Linked DNA regions of Homo sapiens: region 1 is linked to region 2. Evidence: promoter capture Hi-C in human tissues and cell types (Jung and others, 2019). All regions are on one chromosome and are shown on one strand. The core of a region is centred on a gene start or on the middle of the fragment in contact, and the rest is flanking DNA. Distances in the headings are between cores, read along the strand shown. Region 1 overlaps B3GALT1 (beta-1,3-galactosyltransferase 1). Region 2 holds the start of STK39 (serine/threonine kinase 39).

What was found. The method cuts DNA at HindIII sites, captures the fragments that hold promoters and counts their contacts. A contact is called where the count stands out against the background at its distance.
Region 1: a fragment that was not itself captured here is called in contact with the fragment with the promoter of STK39 in region 2 in 2 of the 25 tissues and cell types used here (H1 embryonic stem cells and hippocampus).

Annotation. Positions count from the first base shown.
Region 1 is chr2:167,294,304-167,300,727 of GRCh38, reverse strand. The region is part of intron 1 of B3GALT1 (beta-1,3-galactosyltransferase 1); the gene reads right to left. Among named protein-coding and RNA genes, the nearest start is that of B3GALT1, 4.5 kb to the right of the region's middle. RefSeq lists an enhancer at 6,007-6,424. The HindIII fragment of the contact is 4,904 bases long and covers 1,814-6,424 here.
Region 2 is chr2:168,244,208-168,250,781 of GRCh38, reverse strand. STK39 (serine/threonine kinase 39) reads left to right here and starts at 3,187. Exons shown (of 18, transcript NM_013233.3): 1 at 3,187-3,554. The coding sequence starts at 3,347. It overlaps LOC107985959 (a long non-coding RNA gene), which reads right to left and starts at 2,821. Exons shown (of 5, transcript XR_007087282.1): 1 at 2,714-2,821. RefSeq lists silencers at 2,982-3,231, 3,442-3,491, 3,852-3,901, 3,992-4,081, 4,102-4,301. The HindIII fragment of the contact is 8,154 bases long and covers 1-3,624 here.

The sequences.
Region 1 (6,424 bases), core at 3,016-5,515, 950 kb after region 2:
TACATTTTTCACAAATAATTATTCAGTTTTCCCAGAACCATATATTAATCATTTTGTACTTCCCCACATATTTGTGATTATTTCATACTGTGCTTTATTTTTGCATATTTTAGAGTTTGCATCTGAGGTCATTTATTCTCTTCTGCATGTTTGTCTGCATGTTAATCATCACTCGTAATACCTTTAAATACTTGAAAGTGCAACTTCCCTTAATGCGTTCTTTATGTTAAAATCCTTTGCTGTTATAACCTACTTGTTATTGTAGATGAACTTTAGAATATCTGTACATTTTACAACAATCTCTTTGGAATTTAACTGTGATTGTCTGTATGTATATATGTGAATATATATATACATTTAGTATTACTCTTTTTCTCTACTTATTTACATTTATTAAAAATGTCCCTTAGGAAGCTTTTGAATTTTAATAGCTTCTGATTCCTGGCTTACAATGACATAAAATCAGGAGAAATTTTCAGGCAGCATTGAAATAACTCTTTATAACATTTAAAATATAAAGTTCAGCTGGGCACAGTGGCTCATGCCTGTAATCCCAGCACTTTGGGAGGCCAAGGCAGGCAAATCACCTGAGGTCAGGAATTCAAGATGAGCCTGGCCAACATGGTGAAACCCCGTATCTACTAAAAATACAAAAGAAATAGCCAGGCGTGGTGGCGGGAATCTGTAATCCCAGCTACTCGGGAGGCTGAGGCAGGAGAATTGCTTGAACCCGGGAGGAAGAGGTTGCAGTGAGCCGAGATGGCACCACTGCACTCCAGCCTGGGCAATAAGAGCGAAACTCCATCTCAAAATAAATAAAGAAATAAATAAAATATATAAAGTTAAAAAAAGAATATATGTTATATAAATTCCACATATATATATGTTTATAAATAATACATATATATGGAGAGAGAGAGAGACCAAGAGAGAAAGAAGGAACCAACAGAGGGGAAAAAATGACTATTTTTAGCTGCCTTCAATAATTTCAGGATCTGCCTATTTTGTATTTTAGTCAGCTAAAGATTATCTTTTATTTCTTTGCATAAAGGAAATTAGGCCAAAATAATAACTAAAATAATTTTATCAATGCAATCTATTATTTGTTAATTGTTGCTTATTTTAAAATACAGCACCTTTCCTGTTTATCATTAGCTGTGTTCACTCAAGAGAAATCAACATGCATTACTCATATTTTTCATCTAATTCCTCAAAAATTGGAATTCAAGCAATCAGTGATGCTATCACTATTTTATAAAAATAAAAACTAAAGTAGTGATGAACTGTGACACATACTCACAAGCCCTATGACTGGCATAGACAGATACAGAATTGAGGAGGCCTAACTATTAGTTCATATGCCCTATTCACAAAGCCATGGTGCATTTGTGAACATTTAGTATAATTCTTCTTGTCTAGTAGTATCTAAATTTACAACTAATTGTTTGCAAACAACCTCTACCTCTGGCAGTTGTTTTTGCCTGGGTGCTAGGGTCCTAGAAAAGTTACCCACATGACTTACTGTTCAGTGAGGAATTGATTCAGCCCTGATGTCATCTATATGTGTCTAGGAAACATCTCATAGCCAAAGACTAAACAAAACACTAAGTACAATTAAAACTAAGTGCAGTATATCAGTTATAAACCATCTCTTCTGTTTCAAATTAGTACTTTAGGAGAATGATATGTCTCTTCAAACCCCTGTGGAAGGTGTTTTCTGAGAGAATCTAGCAATAGGTTTGTTTTTTTCTTTTCTTTGAGAACCAAGAAAGAGGTTTTTAATTGTTTAAAATTCTCTCATTATCCATGCAAGTTATCCCTCTCTACCTAGTTTTTTTGTTTTTCTGTTGTTGCTCTTTTTAAAAAAAAAATGCAGTAGCTTTTAAATTTTCTTAAGCATTTTTTTCTCATTCTAGAACATTCAAGAAAAACAGTAACAAAAAACTGCACACAGTTTTGGTATTTTCTGGAGTCCCTGAAGTTCATCTGTCAATCACATTGAAATCCAAAGTGATTGACCTTGGGAAATAAAAGGTCCTGTAAGAAGAGGGAAATAAGAAATCCTATTTTAGCAATTCTATTCTATCCATTATATTCTATAAACTAAATTCTATAGAGTCTATAAATATATGTATATAGAGTATATACATCTGTATGCTATAGACATAAAGAATGAAGTAAATACAAATATTTTACTTGCAAAGTTACGTCCAGCCTTATAAATCTTAGATGACATCTCTAAATGTATCCCAATTTCTCATTTTCTTGGTCCCAACATAATATTAACACAATGTAATAGTATGTCAGATATTAAAATAATAAAATGCACAAACTAGTAGATGCAGTCATTTCTATTATTTATTTTACAAAATGTAGAACTGTTTAATGAGCAACTGGCAAAGTGTTAACTTATATACTTCATCGTTAACAAATAGTGTTTCTAGATCTTCTACCTCAAATGAACTGGCAATAAATATCAACTTCCTGGAGTAAAGTTCTTCCTTACACATAGAGGAAGTTGCAGAATCACCTGGGTTCTTCCCAGCTCTAAATACCTGATTTCTGCTTAGCTCTCATTAACAGTTTCATAATCAGCTGGAGTGTGCTAGATATGGTAACCATTTGTTGGTTTACTTGTGGTTTAAAAACATTGTTTTCCTAAAGTTTTGCATTTAGGCAGAAAGAAGAAAAACTAGGGCAAAAAAGATAAAGGCTTAAATGAGTGCTGAATGCATTCTTGAATCTGGAGAAATAAAATACTGAGTTGACAATATCAGAAAGTCTTTCTCCATCTCCTAAAACTGGGGTGGGTAGCAGCAATCTTGAAGGCTTTTCTTGAATGATGTACCCTGCACTATTGTCCTGTAATCATACGACCTGTGAATAAGTTGGCACTAATTCATTATGTGCTATAACTTCTTCGGAGTATAATTTCAGCTTCTGTCTAATATGAAAATATTGTTCGCAAACTGGTTTTTGAAAGTCAAGCTAGGTTCCATTCTTCATATGAGGATAAGTAATAATTCTGAGATGTAAGCTAAAGACCCCAAAGAAAGTAATGAAACAGAAGCACAGAAAGTGAAACTGGAATCATAATTGTACAGCTTTTTTTGCATAAAAGAATAGAACCTGGGATCTAGGTAAAATTTAGCAAAGTTTGATCTGTAATTGGACTGACTGCATACGCAAATCTATTTTTAATTAAAGACAAGCTTACTTGAAAATTGTTGTTTCAGCATTTCTTACTAGATGATCAGATCATGAGTCTTTTTATTTTTTTGATGCATAAACTTTAAGGAAACTTTGACCTCAAAACCTAGTTTTTTTTTTTTAATCAGTTTTTACAGAGGTACATAAATGTGATACCTTCAATGTGGAAGAGAAAGAAGAATTCTCATTACAAACATGCTTTTGAATCTTTCCTAACTACTAAAATTCACTCATCCCTTTTGAATGAAGTTCTGTAGATTTGACTTTGCACAGTCATAAATACTGTTATTTTGTTTAAATGTTGTTAATTTGGAACCATTACATTAAAAGATAATGTTGTCCTCTAGTTCCTCTGAAAATATTATAATTTGATTTTAAAGATATTTTAAAGGACAGATATCATATCATGTTATTGCTGAATAATCATCTTTAGATCTCTCTTTTTTGCCTTTAACCCTCACATATTACGCAGTGTTATTGTTCTCATACATAGCTTCAGGATCAATATGTATTAGTTTTCCATTCTTACATTAATTTGTGTAGGTATATATGAGTGGGGACATATAAGTTCAAGAGAAAATGAGATGGAAAGAGATTGGTCCATGAGATCTAGATCTTAGAATAAACAGGTTGGTAGGAGATAAATATTCTATATAAGTTATCACTATATTTTTATGATCTATTGCACCCCAATAGAATATAAACTGCAAAAGGGTGGGGATCTTTGTGTGATTTACTCATACAAGTATTCATTGAATTCATACAATAGTGTATGTATTCATTCACACAGTCAAAGCAAACAGAACAGTATTTTGCACATAGTAGGAACACAGTACAATTTGTTAAATGTTATTTGAATAAACCAGTATCATAATAATAGATTAGTAAAGAGAACGAGAATATTCCTTTATGATGCACATTCATCATTCAGAATAGATTAGTCAATTTGTTTCAAATGCAGCATGGCGAAATTCCTTCTGAGAACCTTTCTAGTATGCATGTGTTTTTGTGTGGTGAGAGAGAGCGAAAGAAAGAGACAGACTGAAAGAGACAAAGAAAAAATGAGAATGAACTTCTGATTTACTAACCAGTTGAAGTTTTTAATTCCCCTAACATTGTTAGTTTTAGAAAAAGAATGATTTCACTATTAATTAAAACAAATCGCTATAAACCTCACTTTCTTACCTATTCACGTACAAACACTAATCGTGACTATCTGACAAATTAAATAAGTTTTATTTCATAAAATAATTGTATCTATTAGCATTGCTATTCATATTGATGTGATCTTCTTAGAAAAGTTATCCGATGAGTATTAAAATTAAAATTTTGTACAAGTCAAGAAGTGAATTTAGTGGCCTAGGGTCTTCACAAGTTGACATTACTTGTATTACTAAAATTCATCTAGAATATATGGCAGTCTAAGCTCATGGGCTGCCCTGAAGCAAAACAAGTTAAAGCTTAAGTACATTCGCAGAAATGGTACAATTTGAACTGCTTGTATAAATTAAGTGGCTGGCACTACCCATTAGCTCCCTAAAGCCTGTGCCCACCCCCAACCCCAACTCTGCATCATTTGTTTATGCTTAAACATATTTCCTATGGCCTTATCCTAATATTTATGACCATTGACACAATTCTCTGTACTTGATTATATTTGTCCTACTCGTTTTAAAATTATCTAAAAAAAGATTTCCTCCAAGTAAAAGTTCCATACACACACACACACACACACACACACACACACACGTACACACACAACCTTAAAATGAGCACAAAGGCTCTTAATTCCATTTTAAGACTTGTGGCTTACTCCAATACATAATGCAGTGGATATATAAAATGTTACTTGATGTCAAGGTGAAAAAGCACTTTCTTAGCCAAGTCGTTAAAATTTTCCTTAGAAGTTCCATTTTTAGTACTGGCTGTTACTGATAGCTTAGTTTTAATTGAAGTTTATTTTAAAATTGTTAATTAATAAGTATAACACACTTTAATCCTATTTCCCCCATATTAACCTATGAGGAAAACAAAAAGTTTTACCAGCACATAGTATTGCATAAAAGAAACACAAAACTAACATAAACTGCTTAGCCTGTTTTAGTAACCTTAACAAAGTCCTGAAGGTTTCAATAACTAAAATATTGCAATATTAATCACCTGGAAGCAGGTAAATTTTGTATAGAACAACCACCACAAACTATATACTTTCTTTAATCATATCAGAAAACCACACTTTTAAGCCAGACATGATGAATGCTAAGAAGAAAATACTTAGCACCAATTTTTTACTAGTCCAAATGCAGTATGTGTGACTAAAATCATAATAAAAAAATCCATTTACAGCACAACAATTAAGTGATGAAAACCATGAGACCATCCTTGGACCCAAAACTAACATCACTACTAGTTTATCGTAAGTTATTCATCTGCTTTAAAATAACTTAGTTGTTAAATTGGGAGAAAATAGAATCTTTACAATGAAAAATAACTATCGAAAAATGCCTGACATATTTGGACAGCTCCCTCCTGATTTTCTATAGCATTTCTATTACGTGCCTTACTTTCATTTTCTCTGGTTTACCAAATCAGAAATGAGCCCAATCAAAGTGGTTTCTGCGGTTTGGTTTTGGGTATTTTTGTTGTGTTGTGATTTGTTTTGTTTTGGGACAAAAGATCCCTCTAGTGAAAGAGATTACGGAGCTACATAACAAGAAAAATGCTGTCCCCAGTTCAAGATCCGCCTCCCTGTATTGAGCCAATTTTTGTTTTACCAAAGCTGGCAGGCAGGGAGCTGATGTTCCACCTCCATTCCCTGCTGCAACCCCAACGCCAGTCAAGTACCGGAGCCTCGCCCCATCTGAGACAGTGGGGAGAGCTCCTTAGTATTGAGGTATTTCAAGAACTTTCCTAAGCAGATACTCCCACGGAGACAAGGAGCCACATAGAAAACAATCGCCAAGAGTAAGTTTGTGCGTCCTGAGCAGGGATGGAGAACCCACTGCACTGAACTACGGAGATTCGGATCTGGCCCAGTAGCACCATCCATTTGCAGCAGCGCAAAGAATTCGCCTTCTGCGGAAGGCTTTGCAGCACGGGTGGAACTCTCAACAGCTTTATCAAATAAGATAATCTAATATGAAACAAAAACGCTCTGGAGGCAGCTGGGTACCCTAACCTGGTTACTCTGCGTGGTTAACGTGTCCTAGGTCTG
Region 2 (6,574 bases), core at 1,938-4,437:
GAACCCAGAAGGCAGAGCTTGCAGTGAGCTGAGATCACGCCACTGCACTCCAGCCTGGGTGACACAGCGAGACTCTGTCTCAAAAACAAAAACAAAAAAATAAATAAAAATACAAAAATTAGCTGGGCGTGGTGGTGGGCACCTGTAGTACCAGCTACTTGGGAGGCTGAGGCAAGAGAATCGCTTGAACCTGGGAGGTGGAGGTTGCAGTGAGCTGAGATTGTGCCACTGCACTCCAGCATGGGCAACAAGAGCGAGACTCTGTCTCAAAAAACAAAACAAAACATCGAAGTCCAGATTTGAATCCAGTACTTTCTTTCTTCAAGGCGTTGGCCACTTCACTACACATCCTCTCTTAGATGTTCAAAGGGTTTATGAATAAATAATGGAACTCTACGAAACCTCTTTGTAATACAAATAACCACTGCAATAATCTGTTTATAAAATGAAAATGTATACTTACTTCATCTAAAGCATTATTTACCCTCCAGGGGACATTTGGCAATGTCTGGAGGCATTGTTGATAGTCACAATGTCAGCAGCAGGGTTGCCACTGGCATCTAGTGCATAGAGGCCAGGGTGCCTTTGTCTGCTCTGGCTGGTATGACAAAATACCTTAGACTGGGTAGCTGACAAACAACGGAAATTCATTTTTACAGTTCTGGAGGCTGAAAGTCCAAGATCAAGGTGCCAGCAAATTAGGTATTTACTGAGGGCTTGCCCTCTACTTCATAGCTAATGCCTCTAGCTGCATCCTCATCAAGCTCCTTCCGGCCTCATTTATAAGGGCACTAATCTAACTCAGGAGGGCTCTGTCCTCATGACCCAATCTCCTGCTAAAGGCTCTTAATACTATTCCACTGCCGATTAAGTGTCAACATATGAATTTTGGGGGGACAGAAACATTCAGACCATACCACAGGAGAACAGACCTCTACAACGAAGAGAACTATCTGACACAAAACAGCGCTGAGATTGAGAAACCCTGACACATCATGAGGCAGTTGGATACACTTTAAAAACATTTAGACCCTTATTTTTCCTTTCTATTTTTAACATCGCTCACTGAATGTACTCTTTATGCATTGAAATAAACCTTGTTTATATTTTAAAGGCACCCGCCTCCATCCCCATCTTTCAATTTAAATTTAGTAATGGATTTTCCGGGAAAAGTGCATATCAGTTGAATACTTCTAAAAAACATATATTTCTAAGTTTTAAGTACCATTTTACCCAATTGTTTACAGAAACATTAACTCTAATGCTTTTGTATAATTTTAAAATATTATTCATATTCTGTTCTTCATTTATAAAAATGATGCCAAAGAGCAATGCCAGGGGACATTCTTCTTTAAACCGATTTACTGTAGAAATGATGGATGTGCACTGAGTCATCCACTCAAGCAAGTCTTCATCCTGGTAGCCATTTGGAAAGCGGTTGACTAGAGACCGACATGTAGTCTGTGACTGGGGAACAGTTGCTTTTTGTGGGAGACTAATTGATCTGTGTTTGATTCAATTCTGTGATATTGATCTTGACGGCATCATGTTTTCCTACTAAGTCCCAAGAACATTCCTGGTCTTCATAATCCCACTTCATGGTTTGAAAGTCAAAAATAGAAATTCATATGACAAAATGGAAGTCATATTCATTTGATCATTTTTCTTTTCCTTTAAAAACAGTCCTTAAAAGTTCTTTGGGGTAGGGTGGAGGCAGCACTTGAAGAGGTCAGCAGCCATGGCTTGGTATAAAGAGCTCCCCTGTTCCTCAGAGGCCTAGAATTTGTTTATGAAGGGCTCTGTTTCTTGACAGACATGACAAGACACAGTTTTTGAAGTCCTCCGCATCAAAGAATGTACACTTAGTTCAGCATGAACTTCTGCTTCAAGACCAGAGCGAGGTAGCTGCTTTACTCCAACTTTTGTAATGCTCCAAGAGATTAAGTGCCCTCATCTTCAGTGGACATCAATGTTTTGATTAGACAACTAACTTTCCTAATAAATTTCTGGGCTTCTTCTGAATAATCTTTCAAAAATTTTAGTGAGATTTCTGTACATACACTCGGGAGACAAAATCATGATATCCCTAGAGTTTTTATTACATCCTCATTATTCTTACCTATTTCTTCAGCAGTCCTAGCAATGAGAACCAGACAAGATCATCTTGGCCAAACGACCAATACTATTGGTTTACTGCCCCGTTTCAGTTGGAGACAAGAACGGTGGATCCTGGTCACCTCCACGGAGGGAACACAGAGAACATTCACTGTTAAATATGACACCTATAATTAGGAAAACCTATGGTTTTACCATAGCAGTTTTACAGACGAGGTTATTTTTGGGGTGTTGAAAAAACAGCAATTAAAAGCTTCCAACACAGTTTATTCATGCCCCAATAAATTATTTCCCCACCAAGTATACGCTCTTAAAGAAACGCCTGATGTCTGGCCTCAGTGTCCTCACGGGCTAACGTGGCAATTATTAAGGGTGTAGAATTTGAGCAAACTTTCTAAACCTCTCCTGCATGTCTTATTCTAATTCCACAGCCCCTTAAATCGCCTCCCTGGGATCCAGGCGGCTTGGAAAAAATGAAGTCTGAACAGCCAGAGACCTAAGGAATCAAGTTTCATTTACTAAGAAAAACTAGAAGGACTGCGATTAGATTAGGCAAGGTGGGAAAGGGATACCGGCAAGTAAAGCGCCGGAAACTTACAACTTGGGTTATTTTCTAACTGGCGTCTTGCAAAGGGACACCATGTAGGTATCCCGCTCGTCAACTTGTAAATGAACTTCAGGTTCTCTTTGGTGGCAGGAGAATTCTGAATGTGAGAACCTGGCGGCCGTTCAACGACCCCGCCCTCGGGGTCCCCAGGGGGCGTCCTCCGGCAAGCCTGATCGTCTGGGGCCAAGGCGCAGGGCGAGCAGGGAGGGAGGAGGAGAACCAGGGCCGGTGGCCCCGAAAGCACACACAAAGCGGCCTGACTCCTTTGGTGGGAACTTCCCCGGCCGCCAGCGGAGCGGGAGCGGGAGGGGGCGGCGGAGAGGGGGGGCGGCGGTTCCCCTCGCCGAGGCGGAGAACAGCGCGCGCTAGGCTCTGGGCGCGCGGCGAGCGCAGCGGCCGCCGCCTCCTCCCTTCCCCGCCTCCGCCGGCGCTGCCTCCTCCCTCCGCCCAGCTCGGCCTCCCTTGCTCCCTCCCCTCCTAGCTGGCTTCGGCGGGGACGGCGGCGGCGGCGGCGGGCGGGGAGGGCGTGCGCCGGCCGAGAGGTGTCGGCGGCGAGGCAAAGGAAGTTTCAAGTGGAAGGTCGTCCGTCGGCCGGCGCGTCCTCCTGCTCTCCTCCGCAGCATCATGGCGGAGCCGAGCGGCTCGCCCGTGCACGTCCAGCTTCCCCAGCAGGCGGCCCCGGTGACAGCGGCGGCGGCGGCGGCCCCGGCGGCCGCGACAGCAGCGCCGGCCCCGGCAGCTCCCGCGGCCCCGGCCCCGGCCCCGGCCCCGGCGGCACAGGCTGTCGGCTGGCCCATCTGCAGGGACGCGTACGAGCTGCAGGAGGTTATCGGTCAGTGCGGCGGGCGCGGCGGGGCCGGCACAGGCCGGGCGCCGAGGCCGGGCGGGAGGGGGCGCGGGATGCTGGGCTAGCCTGCATGCACGCCCTGGAGGCAGAGAGGCCGGCTTCGGGGCCTACTGGCTTCAACAGTTTTTTTTTTTTTTTTTTTTTTTTTTTTAATTTTTAATGTATTTGTTCGTTCTATGAGCGTTGGTGCTGCAGGAGGCGGCGCGGCGGATGTGACTCGCACTGCAGACGAGCCGCATGCTGCAAACTTTTATCTCAGGGATCGCCGGGGCGGTGGAGCGGAGGACCAGGCGGCGCCGCCGCATCTTCCTCCCCCCGCGTGCCGGGACCGCAGCCCGTGGCCGGTGGCCACGCGGACAGGCAGCCGCGGGTGGGGTGTGGTTGCGGGGGCCCCGCCCTGGGTTTCCAGGGCCCCGGGGGCCGCGTCCTGGGGGACTCTGCGGGCGCAGCCGCTCCTCTGCCTCCCGTCGTGACCCTCTCGTCGTGGGTAACGGGGCCACGTAGAAGCCGCGGAGGCCCCAGTGCTTTTCTGAGGCCGGGGAGGATGCTGGCCTCTCTTCCTGACAGCCGCCACTCCACGCCCGCCTTGCAGCCCGGCTCTCCGCGCCACTCGGCGCGCCCGGGTACCCGCCTCCCTCCGTGCCAGGGTGCGCCGCCTGCCGCCCAGTCCGGCTCCCCGGGGAAAGCGGGTGCCCTGGCCTCCTGCCCTGCACCGGGCCGATGCTTCCCTCTGTTTCAGGCCGAGCTGCAAGAGTGAAATCCGAGGCTGCCGGTGATCTGCTCTCTGCCTTTCGTTGCCTTCTGGCCGGCTCACAAATATCACCTTATCTTACATTTTTAAATACCTGGCAGAGTCGCAGGGCTCGGCGTTACTTTTCCTTGGGCCAAGCACTTGAAGGGCCAGGAGATTTGTTTTGTCCCTTGACTTAGAACCTTCCCTATTGGATCATCCAGTTTGAGAGTCTTGTCACTTAGGGAAGCCTCCAGGTTAAGTGGGCCCTCAGCGTCTAACCTTACTGACGCAGGGATGGGATGTTGCCTTTCCAGAATCTTGGTATATAAGTACAGCGATGAAAAAGGAGTTCAGAATATTTATCTTAAGTATTTTTTCTAACTTTCACTTCAAAAAATTCTTCACCTCCTTTTAAAAAAATTAAAACAGATATAAAAATTTCACTAGGTGTTTAAATGAGCCTTTATCACCTGCTATTGGGGAATAAAACAGCATAGACGGAAATATATATATAAATATATACATAAAAATATGTGAGAAAATGTTGGGCAGGTCCGTAACCTAGGATATATACAAGCTTCAGATAACCTATAATAGGCATCTGTAGACAAAATTCTTTGAAAACCCAGATCTTTCATAATTTTTGACCAAAGACTCTAAAGGGATGAGTCTTCATGTCACTGCCTGAAATAGCTTCAGGGGCTTCTCAAAGCCTGGAATATTCCATGGAAACCTCTTTAACCTGGCATATAGGCCCTGTACCCTCAACCTGCCTGCCTCCTCCCATTGTCTACTCTTCAGTGATTGCTTCCTGAATACACCGCTGTCTTCCGCACATCTGGTCTTCCATTCTTTGCTGCCTTGCAGAGGCTCTTCCCTCCTGTGAGTGCCCATCTTTGTGTACTAAATCTCACTCCGCTTCCAAGGTGAGTGTGAATATTCCTTGAAAAGCCTTCTGCTTCTTTCAAGGCAAAATGCCGTGGTTTCTTCTGCCCCTCTTTTTACAGACCTCATAGCATGTAACCTCATAGTTGTTATTTGCGCAACAAGATCTGAAGGCCTGCTGTGTCCCAAGCATTGCCCCACTTGCTAGCAATATAGAAATTAACAAAAGTGATCCCTGCCCTAAGTTGTTAGGAGACATAGGGAAAGGATCCTATAGGATGTGATGAGTAAGTACTGGGAGAGCCCGAAGGAGGGAGTGACTGCCAGGAAAGAGAAGGAAGCAGAGTATTTCTTAGTAGAGGTCGTAGTTGAGCTGGGTTTTAAGTCTGAGTTTGTAAGGTGCTTAATTATTTCCACTGTTGCCTTCACTAACCAGCTGTGAACTCTGACAGGAAGAGGTGGGCCATAAAAGTTGAATAATGGTATCTGCCACATAATTCTCCATAGAGTCCATAGGATTGGGAGAAGTTATAATCAATTTATATACCTACTTGGTCAATTATTAGGGTTAAAATACAAACGTTGCCTTTTGAAAACAGTATTTTTTTGTGAACTAATAAAATCTTAGTTTAAGTTGAGTGGGATTAATGGCAGGACTTCTTTCTGTTTGCAGTCCCAGCAGTGTTAATTATGGTTGGTCAGTTTAGTGGAAAAAAAGAAATTTACCTGAGGAATTTGAGAACAAAAACACCTGCTTATTCTACCCTGACTTTTGCGCATTTGCATTGTGGGAAGGGCTTTTCTACATTTAAAGTTTATCTCATATTTTCCCAACTAAAAGAGAAAGAGTTGGCCTGTGTGGAGGCCCTGTTATTGAAAAATCAAATTGCTGGAATAGGTTTTTCGCAAGGGCTTAATGTTTATAAGGAATTACAAACCTGTTTCCATTTAGGGTTTAATGCTAGTTGAGAGATTAAGACTGAACTTGTGGTTAAGCACTTTTGCTTAAACATTACACGCAGAAGTTAGCAGTTCAAACACTGAACCAGTTTCAACATGAATGCCAGTTGACAGCCTTTGCTTCTACCCGCCATACGGCAGGTGTCATATGATATGACTCCAGCAGTGTGAACCGTGACCAGCAGCAGGAGGCTCAGATGTGCCTGAACAGAAAACCAAAGGAGGCACCGTGTTTTAACTTTCCAGCATGGCACGGGCACGGAGGACTTTTTCTTCATTTCCTTCTGGGCAGAGTTTGGTCCCCCAGGATTAAGAGAGAATAAGTTTACTAAAATCCAAACAAAGCAGGTTCAGTTGTTTGACTTCAGTTTTAGAAAAATAAACACAGGATTTTGCAAACCTAAAAATAAAGTTTTCTCTTTATTGT